Regions from separate parts of the Homo sapiens genome. Here region 2 is linked to region 1. Evidence: promoter capture Hi-C in 16 types of primary human blood cells and fetal thymus (Javierre and others, 2016). All regions are on one chromosome and are shown on one strand. Each heading gives the region's core, a stretch centred on a gene start or on the middle of the fragment in contact. The rest is flanking DNA. Distances are from core to core; before and after follow the strand shown. Region 1 holds the start of C1orf87 (chromosome 1 open reading frame 87). Region 2 overlaps PATJ (PATJ crumbs cell polarity complex component).

What was found. Contacts are between HindIII fragments. The CHiCAGO score rates a contact against its expected background, and 5 or more counts as called.
Region 2: a contact is called between a fragment that was not itself captured here and the fragment with the promoter of C1orf87 in region 1, in 1 of 17 cell types (M0 macrophages). The highest score is 5.8, in M0 macrophages.

What each region holds. Positions count from the first base shown.
Region 1 is chr1:60,072,330-60,075,029 of GRCh38, forward strand. C1orf87 (chromosome 1 open reading frame 87) reads right to left here and starts at 1,441. Exons shown (of 12, transcript NM_152377.3): 1 at 1,361-1,441; 2 at 208-341. The coding sequence starts at 314. The HindIII fragment of the contact is 5,384 bases long and covers 1-2,700 here.
Region 2 is chr1:62,078,904-62,081,603 of GRCh38, forward strand. PATJ (PATJ crumbs cell polarity complex component) reads left to right here. Exons shown (of 44, transcript NM_001350145.3): 32 at 547-664. Among named protein-coding and RNA genes, the nearest start is that of MIR3116-2, 1.4 kb to the left of the region's middle. The HindIII fragment of the contact is 4,785 bases long and covers 1-2,700 here.

The sequences.
Region 1 (2,700 bases), core at 191-2,690:
AGGAGTATGGGGAATTATAAAGATGAAAAATATCAGGAAAACAGTGCACATGGAAGTTATCAACACGATTTTACCTCTACTGTTGCATCTTAATGACTTCGTTTTCCATGGATGGCATTTTTTAAGTTTAAATTTCTGGGTGAAAACAAAACAATAAAACTTCATTATCATCCAAGCAACATAGATATTTTTCAAATATGGACTTACATCTTTGGCTTCTCCACGAGGTATTGAAAGTGTTTACTTCCAATGATTTTCACCATGATCTCAGGCATTGCATCTGATCCACGGGGAGTCTTCCAGGCTGAAGACATGATTCCTTTCAAAATCCCTTCAGATCCCTAGGGGTGAAAATAAGTAAATTGTTCCTCTTGATTTTCCATTAGGGAACTGCATCATCCTTGCCAATAACAACAAGCAATAATAATAGCAGGACAAAGTGTTTCACCTATATTACCTCACTTAACACTCCTAACAAAGGCATGAGAAAGATATTTTTAACTACTATTATCATTTTTGTTTTACTGTTGAGGAAACAAGCAAAATGTAGCTATATGACTTACTCACATCACATCACATCACCAGTAATTAGCCGACTTGGGAATCTCACCTAAGAGGTCTGTACAGCAGATCTACTGAATCATTAGGTGACTCTACCTTCCTGTACTACAAGACATAGGATGGAATTCCAGTGAGGTCAGAGCAGAAACAAGGGCATTAGTGGGACATATGAAGAATCCATATTCAGTTCTGATGTTTAGTTTCCCCATTTATGAGATCAGGGTAATTCTAGGTCTGTTCTCAGGGACTTGAGGGTGAATCCAAGGAGATAATGCATCTGAAGGGAGACTGTACACAAGACAGACAGACTTTTGTTGTTATCACTGATCTCTTTCTACAACAATACAATGAATCTGAAATTGAACTCCTGCACAAGGTGTTTAAACAGAGTGATGCCAAGGGAAAATCAGAAGTTCAGTAAATCTGGCCACAGCTGAACACTCCCTTTTAGAACCACCCAGAGGCTGAAAGGCCTTTAGAAATCATTCTACTCCAAAGGCTCCTTCACAGATTGGAAAACTAAGGCCCAGAGAGGGTGTGTTATTTGACAAGGGTCACAGAGGAATGAAGGACGGGACTGTTTCCAGTACTTGGGTCTGATGTCTAGGCCAGGGTTCTTCCCAAAAGTCCAATACTAAAGACCTGTGCTAGGGCAGCCCCTCATCCCGGGGACCTGCAGCCTCTTTGCACCTGTCTGGAATCTTCCAGACCCGGAACTCGTGATCCTCAAATCCCCTCCCTGCCCAGCAGCTGCGTGTCGGCCCTGATTGCCCGGAGAGAACAGAGTCGGGGGGCTTACCGCTAGGGCAGCGTCCCCACCCTGGCAGCTCAGAGGTGCGCGGTCCGTGCTTCTCCCCAGGAAGCTGACACTCTCAGACCCGGGGACGGGACGGGGCGTGGGGACCGAGCCCAGGAATCCGGCCAATCACAGGGCCCGCATCGCGGGCGGCGCCTGTTCCGCCCTGGTCGCTAAGGACGCTGAAGGCTGTTTCTGGGCGGGGACCAGGTTTTTCTCCACTGCCTAGGCAATGGACCCAGGCTCTGGCTGCCAACGGGTGAAGAGCCTAGGTGTTTTTGATCTGTGCCTTCTCTGTTCCTCAGAGATATGCGGGCGTCCTTCTAGAAGCCCATCTCGCTCACCTGTGTGGTCACCCTTGTCCCGCCCTTCCTCCGAAGGCTTCATTTCCCTTTGTGAGTTTGCACATAGTTGAGATTCCAACACAGTAGGTTCAAATCCAGACGTCTCCACTGTATGGCTTGAGTAAATCCCTTCTTTTCCCTGAGATTGTTTCCTCATCTGTGAAACGGGGCAAAATAATAACACTGTCCTAACTGCGATTTGGTGACTAAATTAAATAAGAATATCGGCCGGGCTCAGTGGTTCACCCCTGTAATCCCAGCACTTTGTTAGGCCGAGGTGGGCAGATCACGAGGTCAGGAGATTGAGACCATCCTGGCTAACATGGTGAAACCCCGTCTCTACTAAAAATACAAAAAATTAGCCGGTCGTGGTGGTGCGCGCCTGTAATCCCAGCTACTCAGGAGGCTGAGGCAGGAGAATTGCTTGAACTTGGGAGGTGGACCTTGCAGTGAGCCAGGATGGTACTACTGCACTCCAGCCTGGGCAACAGAGCGAGACTCCATATCAAACAAACAAAGAAACAAAAAAACCAGAATATTATAGATTGATAATAATAACGTTGAGTACTGTCTCTATGCCAGATCCCTATGACAAGCTGGATAACTCTCACCTCACAAGTTAATAGTTATAAACAAAATAGTTTTACTTTATTTTAAAGAGAAAAGAAACAAGTTGGGGTATTGATAAACTACTCCAAATCCTGCAAAAGCAAGTACAGAGCTAAGATTAGAATATAGATCTGCATATCCTACATTTCCAGACAGTTGTTATTATGCTAAAAGAAACTTCAGCTGATGCAGGCAAAGACACTTTAGATTGATTCCCAAACGGTATTGTTATTTGCATCAACATAGGCAGCAGCAGCTCCAGCATCTGTTCCCCTGTCTCCTAACCTCTAGCTGTACTGTGCTTTACAGGTGAATATATCACCCACTGGCACATGCAGCCAGAGGTGGACAGCACACTCAGCTCCCCTCCAGGGGCTCACTCTCTAGAGG
Region 2 (2,700 bases), core at 25-2,524, 2.0 Mb after region 1:
GGCATTTAGTAGGCTTTCAGTAGGTGTTGGTTTTCTTTGTCTGCCCCTCATTTTGCTTAATTAACCTACCAAATGCATCTTTGACTCTAGTGTGTCCAGAAGAAATGGACAGTGTTGATGCTCTAAACATCCCCAGCGTAGATTGTTTTTCAATGTGCACAACACAGATAAGTCACTTCAAAGTCCATAGATAAAGGGGCTTCTTGCTGATTTCATCAGAATGAGTAGAAATTGCAAGATAATTTTTGTTTTGCCTCCCACCCCCAGCTTCATGTACAGATCACACTGACAGAGTATCTTCAGCTTTTATCTTTCCTCCCTTCCTTGATCTGCCCTTCATCAAAGCATTTTAGTTGTAAAGTTAAATAGGGAAGAATGAGGAACGAGGCATAAATCATCCTAACTTCTTGCCACCCTCCAACCTTATATTCTCAAAAGACATCATTGGACTGCACCATTGTTTTGGTAACAATACACCAGTTTTAAAGTATTTTCTTGTTACCTTTCTCCTTTTTGATATTCATCTAATTTTCCTTTCTTTTGTAGGCTGTCAGCCAGATGAAACAGCAAAAATATCCAACAAAAGTCTCCTTCAGTTCACAAGAGATACCATTAGCACCAGCTTCATCATACCATTCAACAGATGCAGACTTCACAGGCTATGGTATGATTCTTTCTCTCAGCAGATCTGGCTCATTAAGCCTTAGAGAAGGCAAGGGATCATAATGTCCTAAAACGAGAACTGGACCAGGAGGCAGAAGTCTGACTCTGGATACTTCCTCCGCTTCCTTAGCTTTGGGGCTTGGATAGGTCACTTCATTTCCTACATCATTTTTCCTCCTCTCTGCCATCGCCATTGCCTGTTGCTTTTTGAATATAAGAGCACTAGAACAGAACAGGACCTCAGTAGGTCAGGAGTTCAAGACCAGCCTGGCCAACATGGTGAAACCCTGTCTCTACTAAAAATACGAAAAATTAGCCAGGCATGGTGGCGCATGCCTGTAATCCCAGCTACTCGGGAGGCTGAGGCAGGAGAATCGCCTGAACCCAGGAGGCAGAAGTTGCAGTAAGCTGAGATTGCACCACTGCACTCCAGCCTGGGTGACAGAGTGAGACTCTGTCTCAAAAAAAAAAAAAAGGAAAAGAAAAGGACCTCAGTAAATGTTATTTGAATCTGAGGCTTCTGTATTATTCTTCTCTAATCTCTACAAAAGATTATATTTAGGTCTTGAGTAATATCTCTTTAAAAATCCTATCAAACCCAATTTTTAGCCCTGCAAATGTTGCTTTAAGCTGTTTGAAGAATGTTGATTTTCAATGCTTAAAGAAATTGGCATGCACATTCTGTCTTTAAATTCCTGGCTTGAATTATGCTGACTGGGGGTTGAAAATAGAACTTTATAAAGAATAATAGGTATTTCTACTTGCTTTTTTTTCTTTTTTTTTGAGACAGAGTCTCATTCTGTCACCCAGGCTGGAGGGCAGGGGGCTGATCTCAGCTCACTGCAACCTCTGCCTCCTGGGTTCAAGTGATTCTCCTGCCTCGGCCTCCTGAGTAGCTGGGATTACAGGTGCTCACCACCATGCCCGGCTAATTTTTACATTTTTAGTAGAGATGGGGTTTCACCATGTTGGCCAGGCTGGTCTCAAACTCTTGACCTCAAGTGATCTGCCTGCCTCGGCCTCCAAAAGTGCTGGGATTACAGACGTGAGCCACTGTGCCCAGCCCTACTTTGCTTTTGTGCAGTATACATCAGTAAAAAATAAAACTCTTTAAAAGACAGTACTCACCAATGGCAAAGCATAACCCTGCATTAATTTAGCAGTTCTGAAATCTTTGTGGTATTTGCCTTTTATATATTTTTTCATAAATATTAACTTCATAAAGTTCATCAAGCAGGTACTATTTTAAAGCATTGTAGATGTACTAAAACATTTGATGCATGTGGTCAGAAAACTATGGCGCATGGGTCAAATCTGGCCTACCAGCTAGTTGTGTATGGTCTACAAGCTAAAAAAGGTGTTCACTTTTTAAAGGTTGAAAAAACACCTAAGAAAATTTTATTAAAATATTCTATGAAATTCATATTTCAGTGTCCACAAATACAGGTTTATAGACACTCATTTGTTTCTGTATTGTCAGTGGCTTTTTTCACACTATAATGATGGAGTTAAGTAGTCACAACAGAGACAGTCTGGCCTGTAATGCCCTATTAAAATATGTATACTTGGCACTTTACCAACAATGCATGCTGACTATGGAGGTAGACAAGTTGAGTTTTGGTAATATATATCACATATTTATACTTAGATGACAGAAATTCAGCATCCTTCCTGGTTTTCATTCTCATGGTTAAATAATAAATAAACAAATAAATAAATAAATGAAGTTCATCATCCTACAGTTGAATCTATAGAAATTTTATTCATTTACTCATCTACTTACCAAGCATTTATTGAGGACTTGGTATGAGCTGGGTTTGGGGCTGGATTCCATGAGAGAAGTAAATAAAAAGATTGACTCAGGACTGGCTAGGGTGAGGCAAACGTGGAGGAGGGAAAAGAAATGCCATCTCCAGGATGTCTCACCAGGTTTTTTTCTCTCTTCTCACTCAGGAGACTACGCTAGTCATTTACAAAGGCAGTATAAACTTTTTATTTACTTATCTATTTATTTATTTGAGATGGAGTTTTGCTCTT